2 separate regions of the Homo sapiens genome follow, and region 2 is linked to region 1. Evidence: promoter capture Hi-C in 16 types of primary human blood cells and fetal thymus (Javierre and others, 2016). All regions are on one chromosome and are shown on one strand. Each heading gives the region's core, a stretch centred on a gene start or on the middle of the fragment in contact. The rest is flanking DNA. Distances are from core to core; before and after follow the strand shown. Region 1 overlaps PTPRC (protein tyrosine phosphatase receptor type C). Region 2 holds the start of DENND1B (DENN domain containing 1B).

Region 1 (5,767 bases), core at 1,205-3,704:
GCACTAGATTACATAAATCTATTTTTCAGTCTTTTTAATGTTAAACATTTTACCAGTCTTAAAGTAGGAACACGCTAAATGTGACCTATATAAAATAGCTTAGTTAAAACACCTACGTAACATCTAAAGGACATTCCCCACACCCCGCCCCCCCAGTCATCTAATGATTTTTACATCAACGTTAGCAGAACACTAACAAATACTTTGGTGGAGAATGCCTTTATATATGAAACAAGGTAGGGAGTAGGTGAAGGTACTTAACTATTTAGAGAAAACTATAAAACCAAATATCTGCAATAATTTATTAATTCTCTATCATATTTTAATTCTTCCTAAATTACATGAGCAATGACTTCAATTGTCTGTTGCACTTCATATGTGCAAACATTATTAAACATTACCAAAATCATAGATAGAAGCCACTGTGCTGAATCTTCACTGATAGAAAAAAAAGACCTGATGAGATTGGTTGTGGCCAGGTGCAATGGTTCACACCTGTAATCCCAGAACTTTGGGAGGGAGAGGCAGCTGGATCGCTTGAACCAAGCAATCCAGTCTGGGAAACATGCAAAACCTCGTCTCTACTTAAAATACAAAAATTATCCGGGTAGGGTGGTGCACACCTATAGTCCCAGCTACTTGGGAGGCTACGCCCATGAGTGTGTGTTGAGGCTGTAGTGAGATGTGATGGTGCCACTGTACTCCAGCCTGGGTGACAGGGTGAGACCCTGACTCAAAAACAACAACAACAACAACAACAACAAAAGATTGGTTGTATAACATATTTAACTACTTCATGACCTATCCATTTAGACTGGAGTATATGGTTAAATATTACTGTGCTTGTCCAATGCAAAACAAATGAACTGATGTAGTTACCTAAGTTGTTTTATGTATGTAGACAGCCTTGTACTCTACCCTATTTCCTGTATTACTTAAAAGCAACAATATATTCTTAGTGGAGTCAAATAGATCTGGGAAAAGCAAACAAAATTTTTGCATAAAGTATTTTATAACCAGTGCACAATAAATATTTAATATTTGGAGATTGTTTAATACAAATTACACTACAATATATGTAAACATTCTTTATGAACAATACTGGGAAAGTGTGGAAAATAGGTAAAGCAAAATATGTGACATAGCAATGGAAATTAAGAGGGCACATGTGTAGGTGTGTGACAATAAAGAGAAGGCATCACTATTTCTCAAAGTAAGAACTGCATTGAGCTTTCTCTCAAATTCTATAAACACATCAAATAAATATAAAATAAAACACAGTAATATATCTAGTGTTCCACATATTACAGTTACTACATTCTACACTTTGACTTTTATCTTCTAGGGATGAAATTTTCTACATTTTTTAAAACTTAAATGTCTTGTGTTTTCATTATTTAGTCAAAGGAGTATTTAGTAATATTTCAGTAGGTGGCACCATAGCACTAAAAAACTGTAAATTATCTAAGAGCTCTTTTTCCCATTATAATCCTGTTGTGAATCACCAATGGAATTGACTAGATACATTAAACAGATGAAAATGTAGATAACAGAACACTTGATCTTCAAAGCTGTGTTATTCTAACACATGTATTGTTACTGAATTTACCTTTCCCAATATGTTTCTTTTACAACTCAAAATGTTTAAATGATCACAAATCAAAGTTACCTTGAAGTCACACCCCTAAGTCCCTGATCAGAGATTTCAGCAAAAACTAGGAATCAATTTGAGTGAAAACGGCATTTCAAAAGACATACTTGGGCTTTAAATATCACCCGTTCTCCCTCCCCGCTAAAAAAAAAAGAAAAAAAAATGGGATGCTATTTCCTAGGGAATTTAAACCTGTCTAGTTCTGCAAATCTGGGAAAAGTACAAGGGCAGAAGGGTAAAATAGAATAGATTAAATAAATACTTATTCTCAGCATCTGCCCTAAAATGAATGATAGCATGTTTTGAAGGTTGAGAATGCATACTTGACCTCCATAAACATAAAGCCTGTACAAAAGTGGAAAAAAGCAAATCAAGACAAAAAATAAGGGTCAGCTAAAACAGATATGTATGGCTTTCCTTTCTTAGCAATGCATGATAATAATAAAGTGCACAATAAAAATAAGAGAATTGCACTTTTTTTATGCTAGAAATCTGCTATATGGTCCACAGACAATAAATCTAACAAATCATATTAAATTATTAAGTATTTATGGAGTAAGCACTCTGGGCAGCGACAAGCCAGGTATTATGATTTCAGAGAACCACAGGAAACAGTCTTTTCTACCCTCCATTAGCTTATCAGTAAATATAATAATGATGGCAACAGTTTACTGAAATGTTATGTAGCAGACACTATGCACACCTCTTTATATAATATATATGTATTTTTTTTCTTTTAAGCATCCCAGTAAGCCAATGAGTTAGCATTATTTATCCTTTTTTATAGGGAATGAAACTGGGACCTAAAAGAGTTTAGTAAATTGCTCACAGGCACACACGAGGAAAGTGCTAGATTTGAAATAGTGTCTATTTAATAATTTTCTTATTCTTTATGTAGACGTTATGTTAAAATATTGGGTATATTAATATTATTTTTGGAATCTCATGAGTAAAGGACTTTCTGCTTATCATCAGAAAATAATTCCAAAGATTTCTACTCAGACAGAAGCAAAGGATTTTAGTGATTATTGACATGCAGTTCATTTGATATATAAGGAAACTAAGACTCAGTGAGTGTAGTGCCTTTCTGATTTCATTCAATCTAGTTAAAGCACATGAATTTATGAGCTCCACCAATGTCCAAAGAATTTCAACATCCCTTTATTGAGGCCTTTTATTAAATACAAATGGACATCCAAGAAACACTAGAACAAAGCCTCTAATAAGAAAGAAAGATAGAGCTCAAATAAACAAAAGAGGCACTTGGGAGAATGAGGCAATGCAAGGAGCAAAAGAGAGGATAACCAACTACAATTCATATTTTCAGAAATGAGAAAACATTGCACCCATGAACAAAGAGCAAGAGGTTATAAAAAGCAACATCTCAAGATCAAGAGAAGAAGTCAATAGATACTGGCAAAAATCTTTTTTTTTGTTTTAAAGAAACAGCACTACAATAAAAGATAACATTTAAAAATCACAAAATATCAAGGGAGGGGAGAGTCGTGGGAGCAAAAGACTGTTCTTACTTACTCTAGGCCTTATGGTACTATTTAAACTTTCAAATTATATACACACTTTTAAATAATAATGCAAATAATAAAGAAAAATATCAGTATGTAAAGCAGTATTGAGGATAAAGAAGGCAAATTTTTGTGGCCATGAGAGGAATAAAATCAAATAATTAAAAAATTTTAAAGATAGCAACCATATCTAGCTGTCTCCCAATGACTTATGGTGTCCAATATTTACAATAATGTTTTTTGCTTGTGAATACATATGACTTTGCAAACACACACCTCAAAACTAGGAATGCATTTGTAGGTATTTTATATTTGGTTTAAAACATCATGTTATATATTTCAGGCATGTTGATTAACGAAACAATTAATGACAAAAAAATTAATAAAGGCTACTAGATAACCATTTAAGAACAATCAGTTACACTGCTTTTTTTCTGTCTTAAACTATTTATCTACAAGTCAGGGGGAAAATTTTATCGCTTCCTGTGCAATGATGGTCAAATTGAAGTCTTTGATTTAGATTTGTGTGCCTTTAAATGTCCCATAGTCAAATTTGTTTCAGAAGTAATTCATGCTACATGCCCTTTTGAGATATTTATAAAGTGTGTTAATATATTAAAAGCATAGAAACTTATGTCACTTCGTTTAGCTCAAGATCTCCTAAAAGTATTTGCCACAAACCCATTTTTTTCCCATGGACATACTATAGGACATTTGTACAATGTAACTGCAATGTTTCTGAGAACATAGTTTACAAAATTCTGGCTTGTTATCAGTTATGTATATTTATGTGTGTGTAACCAGTATTATTATCCTGAGGAAGAAAAAATATCAATCCTTTATTTGTATTAATCCTGACTGGGAATTAGATTAAAGGTGACTATTTCTGGGCTCCAGCGCTGGAAAATCTGATTTAGTAGGTTTGTGGGGTAACGTGATCTGTGCACTGGTATTTTCTTAAAGCTCTGATGGTGATTATGATGGAAACAAGGGTTAAGAACAACTGAGAAAGATGCTTCCTTACCCATATTCTCTTTTTAAACATTTTCCAGAATAGGTTTGTTCCCATATTAATTATCTTTTTGCTTCTTATGAAAATGTCTGTTTTCATTTACCTAAATCCAGGGATATATACCTGATTTATGCAATATACTTCAGATAGCAAAAACCATTTAATTATATTAATCCCTTAGTAAGTGTATGTTTTTGTAGCTCTTTGCTTCCTCTAGGATAGGTTACGATCATCATTAAAGAACAAAGAATCATCAAAAGATGTTTGCATAAGTGGTGAAATCTTTTATTAGTGTATTTGGTGCTATCAACAGTGTTTACTATTTAATAAGCGGGTACTATGTGAATGGCACTGTCCTAAATACTGTTACATATTATTTTATCTAATCATTATAGAAATCCTACAAAGTAGATGGTATTCTCTTCTTTTCACAGATGAAAGCTCAAAATCATAAAAACGTGTATGCAAGGCTAAATAAAGAACTTGTAGCAAAATGAGTCTAGATTTAAATGCAGATCTGTCTGACTGTAAAAACCCCCATGCTTGTTCAACTGCATTGCACTGTAAGGAAAAAATATTTAATGCTAAATCCAGTATTTGTGCTAAAGAGCTATTAGGGACTCAAAAATGAGTAAATATTATGTATAACCATCAAAATGGGATTCAGAGTACCACACATTAAAACTTATTGTTAAAAAGTGTAAATTGCTGGACAATGACTACAAAAGGGGTAGATTCTTATTTTTCAGAAAAATGGGAAGAAAAGTGAACAGGCCTATGCCTAACAAAAATGGTAGCATGAACTTGTCTGTCCTTCAGTATTTTTACCCAAATCTTTAAGGAAGGAAAAATAGTAGAACATGCAAAAAAAAGTTATGATTATATTATGTCTGTACTTTGAAACAAAGGAAAACATACAAAAGCCTTTGCTGATCAACCTATACCTTGTAAAAGAAGTGGGGTGAGGGAAAGAATAGGTAAATGAAGCTCCCCATAGAAAATAAACAGTGCTAGGACAGTGAGTGTCTGTGAATTTAATCTAGTTATGTAGAAACGTGTTTACAGCACCAACCACAACCCTTTCTAAATGAGCCAGGAGATGAATTAAAATTGTACTTTTTTTTGTGAACTAACTACAATATAATAAAAAAAAGCAGAAAATAAATGCTAGATTATAGGGAGTCCACCTAATAGAAACTAATCTCCCATCTCACAAACAGAATAAAATGTCTGCTGAGGCTGCACAAAAGCCTCCCACTCCTAAAGCTGAGGACAATAAAAGCAAAGGCTGATAAATGCACTGCTTATTTCTTCTTATTTCCCTTTAATGAAAACTCTGAACAGAAACACTTGGCTTACTTTCAAAATCATTAAAGGAACCCAGGCATAATGGGAAAAGCTACACTTTCAAATAGAAGAGGTTTTCAATGTGTTGTTCTCATAAGACTGCTGTTTGCACAGCTAAAAGCTAACAGCAGTGTCTTTACTGCTCTTGTGGTTTCTTCTCTTCGGTGTACTTCTGTTTTTCTTATTCTGAGTCTTTATAGGAAAGGAAGAGGCGCAGCTCATGCGGTTAAGCAC
Region 2 (5,767 bases), core at 2,396-4,895, 910 kb after region 1:
TTAGGCAGAAGGAAAGTGATCCTACACAGAAGATCTAAAATGAAAATACAAAAGAATGGTAAAGTTCTGAGTAAATCTAAACAAACATGGACTGTATAAAACAACATTCATAATGCATTTTTGGGGGGATTTTAGTTTTGAGGGGGTTTTAGAGGTTCTTGTATTGTTTGAGAGAGGGTGGATATCCTTGTGAACTCTGGCTTTAATCAGTTAAAATGTACCTATTAAAATTTCTAGGATAACTCCTAAATGAATAGAAACAGAGTAAATAACTTCCAAACTAGAAGAGGTGGGGGCAGAAATGAAAGCATAAATAGTAATCCTAAAGAATGCAAAAGTGAAAGAAAAAAACAGATCAGAAGAAACAAACGGGAAGTACAAAATTAGATGGCAGAAATAGATTTAAATTTATCAGCATTTTTCTCTCTTTTTTTTTTTTAATTTTTTTTAGACAGTGTCTCACTCTGTCAACCAGGCTGCAATGCAGCGGCATGATCTTGGCTCACTGCAACCTCTGCCTCCCAGGTTCAAGTGATTCTGAAGCCTCAGCCTCCTTATTATCTGGGACTACAGGCTTGCACCACCCACCACACCCAGCTAATTTTTGTATTTTTAGCAGACAGGGTTTCACCAAGTTGGCCAGGCTGGTCTTGAACTCCTGGCCTCAACTAATCTACCCGCCTTAGCCTCCCAAAGTGATGGGATGACAGGCATGAGCCACTGCGCCCAGCCTAAATTTATCAACAGTTTTAATACATGCAAATTGTCTAGGGGTTTGATGTAAGAGCTAAAGATGATCAGACTAGATTAAAAATCAAGACTAAAAATTTTAGATAAATTTGAAACATGATGGTTTAGAAAGTTTGAATGTAAAAGGATGAAAAGAGATATCCTAACATCAGACAAATACTATTCAGAAGAAAACTGTTTAGAATCTAAGGCAAAAGTACGATTGGAGGTAAAGAAAGTAACAACATAATGATGAATGGTTGTATTTATTAGGTAGATATAGAAATTATAAACTGATGTGTATATTATTACACAGCCCCAAACTGTGTAAGGTAGAACCTGAAAGAACTATAGGCTGAAATAGAAAAATCTACCATCATGTTGGGATATTTAAACTCATCTCTCCCATTAATTGAATTATGTCAAGCAGATGCAAATTCAGTAATAGAAGATGTCAACAACACAATCATCGTATTTGATCATGGACATATATTTAGAACACTGTACCCCAAAGCTGCAGAATATATATTCTTTACAAACCACATACAACATTTAAGTCTTGAAACATTTAAAAAATTAACTAAATTAATTAATTAATAAGAAATTAATTAATAAATAAAGACCATGTTCTTTGACAACAATACAGACTATGTTCTTTGACTGGTATGGTCCTGAAAACTGTTAATATTAATTGTCGAGTAGGAAATATCATTGCTGAAATATGATCTTGGGAAGATTTAAGACTAATTTGAAGGTTTGCCCTTTGTACACTTCTCTATCAGTCATATGGGAAGTTCTATATGAAATGAGTATTACTAAAGTTATACCATCGATTTCATTAAAGCTATTACCAAGGTAAGTGTATGATATTTGTTTTCTAATTTTTTAACACCTCATGCATGTAGATCATGTACACCTATGTTCCTATCCCTTTTATTTCAGTAATAACAGAACAGATAAATCTCTTCATTATGGTCAGCCTAAAAGCTCACTTAAAAAGATTTGCTTTGGGATGCGAATGTGTAGTATTTCCCTCGATGTACTTAACATAAATGGAATGAAGAACAATTTTATACTGTTCAAGGGTATGACTGTCATTTAAAATAAAATCCCAACAATGGATGAGGAAAACAATTGTATTATTATCTCCTCACACCAAATTAAAAAGTCCTCAATATGGTCACCCCAAGTAGGGTTCCTTTCTTTGGAAATAATTAATTATAATGAAAGGAGAAGTTTGAGAAATTCAGTAACAGTTGGGGCAGAAGTGGCTTTTAGCTTACGAATTTTTTTTTTCAAGGCTTTGGAGTATGGTCACTTATGCAGAAAAATCTTTATTTGGGAAAAGAAAACTTATGTAGTATAGTTTGCCTAATTGTGAAACTGAAATTCACAGAATAATTTCTCAAAAGATAATACAAATTTGTAGCACCTGTTTTACTTGAACATCACACTGCTCATGTGATGTACAAGTAATAATTCCCATTTTACAAATGTAGGAACCGAGAAACTGAAGTGTCTCACCCCGAGTCAAGCTATGACAACACTTTATGATAAACACATTTTTTTTTTGTTTGTTTGTTTCCCAGTTATGGCCCGTCCTCATTTTTTACTAACAGGCCCATGGCTATACAATATTTCTGATCCTGTTGACCAAGTAGTACCCAATTTTGGCAAGAAAGTTTAAGGTTATATAACTGAGTGCAACTTCAGGTTCTCTGACTCTTGAGTTTTTTAATTCTTAAGACTCCTTTTCTGACTTTTATGTCTTATGACTCACACTACATTCATACCACATTTGGTTTCCTCTCATCATCTTAACTTCTGCATGAATAAAGTCTGAAGTAACCACCTTTTGGAAGAAACACTGTGGCTATGTGTCAAGGGTGGCAGTGTTAGCTGGGAGAAGGCCTTTCCCAGAAGATCTCTGTGTAAGAGCCTGGCCTTCCACAGTCATTTGAATGTCCATCATAAGACTTTTCTACCTGTCTTCTCAGTAGATCCTAAATATGAGACAGCAGAGGAGGGAGACAGGCAATATGAGGTAGAAGTAAATAATCAGCATCAGATAGACCTGGTGTGAACTCCAGCTTTGCCATTACTCCCTGGTTTCTTCATCTGTAAAATGCTGATGAAAGTATCTATCACACACCTATGACAAGTACTGGGTGAGAGTGCACATAACCTGCTTCACATGTGCTTTAGGGCTGTGTAAATCAGTCCCTCCCACGCTTATTCAGTGGTGCCCTCTCTGAACTCGCCTAAACTGCCAGACTATGAGGCCTGCGACTATGTACATGTGTTCAAAAGTTAGTCCTTGGTTATCACTGCAGTCTGTGGTATAGGAATGTCTGCCTCCCACATGCGCAGACAAGTGGGGCACTACCATTTGGCTACTTGACAGGGCTATTTAGCAGGTGCACATGTCTGAACATTCCTGAATCAGGAGGGGGTAGCTCTGGATTTCAGAGAGCTGTAAGCAGGCCACAGCTGGAGTGACGCAAGAGCCAGGGGCATCAACTTGAGCTCTGAATTTGTAGTATGAAATGAAAGGAACCCAAGTCCGTGTGTATGTGTGTGGAAAACACTGCAGGTCGAGGTACTTTTCCAGGTACTTCGCCCTTTGTGGGGTTGCAGCCCCGACGCCCTGGAATCTGGACTGGACCCAGAAAGGAAGCCGGTTTGGTTCATGCTGAGGACACAGGGGGCACCTTGCCTTTCTGGCTAGGTGGCAAAGCGGTACGTGGGCCATCCCAGCAGGCACTAGCGCTCCCCCTGCACCCTCTGGCCGCCCGGGCGCGGGGACCTGGCCCCCGCCTCCTCCACAGTCTCCGACTTGCGAGCCGCACGGCCCAGGTGAAGCCGCTGGGCGCGTCCCCGCGCGCCCCTTCCCCCTCCCGGCGACTTCCTGATTTGCAAGAAGGTGCAGGAGCCGCAGCGGGCGGCCCCGGTCGCAGGAACTGAGAGGCCTCAGCTTTGGTGGCGGCTACCGGCGGAGACGGGGGCGGCGGCCACGCCACCGCTGCTGTCACAGAAAGGCTCTGGTGGGTGGGGTGGGAGGCGGGGAAGTGCCGGGGGCGCAGCCGACATGGGCCCGCCGCCACGGCTGCTGTGAGCAGCCTCTTTCCCTGTGTGGCCGCCGGCGTGGGCGGGGACGGCGCGACCCTCGCGCGGCCGGGCTGCGGGCTTCCAGGCCAGCGCGCGGGGGCCGGACGGACAGCCCCACACCGACATGTAACCATGGACTGCAGGACCAAGTGAGTGGGGGGGCCCGGGCGCGTCGGGGGCGGGCGTCCCTCGGCGGCCCCTCCCAGGCCAGCTCGGCTCCTCCGCGCCTCCGCGCTCAACCGGCTCCCCGGGCGGCCGAGGTTGGCCGGGCGGGCTGGGGGTGCGGTCCGGCCCCCAAGCCTCTGGCCGGCCGGCGGGACGGCGCTAGGCCGCAAAGCCTGCCCGCCCTGCGTCCCCGGCCCTCCGTGGTTGGCGCGGCTCCTCCCGGAGAGGCCACTAGCGCCTTGTCGACGCCCGCCTTTCGGGGGACAGGGGAGGCCGGGCGGCCCCTGACACCGCCGCTGAGGGGTTCTCGTGCTTCCCCCGAGTGTGTCAGATGTGACTCTCCTGGGGCTGCCTGTGTGCGTGTGGTGTCCGGGAGGGAGTCAGCGTTGAGGTTAAGAGGTTATTATTCCGAGTGCTCTCTGAGCATTAAATATAACCGGTGTTTTCTTAAGTCCGTTTGTTACTTTTGTCTTGGATGTTTTCTTATGATTCTGCTTATAAAATTAGATTGGTCTCTGGTGTTTCTTTATGCAGCAACTGTAGATGCATGGTTCTTGCAAAACGGTATCCAATTAGAGGGTACTTTTATGTGTGTGCTAAAGTATTTATCAACGACTACTTTGCTCAGGAGATTAGGTAAAAAGCAATTTTAATAACGGTGGTGATTTTGTTTCTAGGTATCTTAGAGGCATGAGTTTTATATTTTTCTTCTGAAACTTAACTTTGGAAAGAATTCCTTTTTACTTCGCTTACCCACCCTTTACTATCTCCTTCTCAAAAAGTTTAAAATAATGCCATGTATATTTGTATTATTGTGAAAGGCCGTTTGAATTTCACAGAAGTAAAACTGAGTCAATATTTAACTTTTACACCTAAGAGAAATTCTAAAGAATATTAGGGAAAGAGGGAAATTATGTAATAGAATTATTTTCTTCAGTGTGTTTGACATCATGGTGGGCAGGGTAAGTGAGTAAAAATAGTATGCTTCTTGACATTAATTGTTTTAAGAGGGAGGAAGTCATCTGAGCCCAGATTATTCCCATTGAAACAAGTTAATAGCGGAAAGGCTAAAAAAATGTATATTTGCATGTTAATTTATATGTCTTGTCACTTCCTATGTTTCCAGATTCATATCTTATAAGAAAAGCTTCCAAAAAAAGAAATGCTTTTTTTTAAAGTCAGAGCTGGCATTCGTTTCTTGAAGGAAGTACATATTAAATACAGCCAATGTACAAAGGCACTAAGGTCTTGTTAGCAGGAATAACTGAGATATTAACACATTGGCCGTTGTGGTAACAGACTTAATCTTTTACCTTATGATGGAACGAGAGATTTAAACAGCAATGTTATGAAGAAAAAGTGTCTCAGTATATTTCAGTTCACTTTTTGAAATTTAACCAATGTTGCTTTGAAATTTTGCAAATATGGCAAGTTAGTAAAAAAGTCAATAACTTCTGAATTAAGCAAAGTAAACTTACAGTTTCTAGTGGGAAAATCTAACATGGAAGCAGATGGCTGGTTTCTCCAAAGATAATGGATAAAAAGAAGGCTTTTTATGTTGCTAGCCTTAGAGCTATGAATAGTTTGCTACTTTAAATATGCATAAGTACAGTAAATACATTTTAAGAAAAGTATATGCAACGTATCACATTCATGGAGCATTATCAATGTTTTATGGTGATCTAGAACTTGGCAGGTGGAACCATGTATTCATCATTTACACTTATATTGCAAGTCCTTTGGAGACAGCCTGAGAACCTGTGTC

What was found. The method cuts DNA at HindIII sites, captures the fragments that hold promoters and counts their contacts. A CHiCAGO score of 5 or more calls a contact.
Region 2: the fragment with the promoter of DENND1B here is called in contact with a fragment that was not itself captured in region 1 in 2 of 17 cell types (M2 macrophages and fetal thymus); the score reaches 7.1 in M2 macrophages.

Annotation. Positions count from the first base shown.
Region 1 is chr1:198,681,992-198,687,758 of GRCh38, reverse strand. All of the region lies in intron 2 of PTPRC (protein tyrosine phosphatase receptor type C), which reads right to left. Among named protein-coding and RNA genes, the nearest start is that of PTPRC-AS1, 18 kb to the right of the region's middle. RefSeq lists an enhancer at 5,519-5,767. The HindIII fragment of the contact is 7,286 bases long and covers 1-5,767 here.
Region 2 is chr1:197,773,358-197,779,124 of GRCh38, reverse strand. It overlaps DENND1B (DENN domain containing 1B), which reads left to right and starts at 3,645. Exons shown (of 23, transcript NM_001195215.2): 1 at 3,645-3,986. The coding sequence starts at 3,970. RefSeq lists an enhancer at 2,428-2,477 and silencers at 2,852-3,146, 3,438-3,637, 3,788-4,297. The HindIII fragment of the contact is 6,146 bases long and covers 1-5,151 here.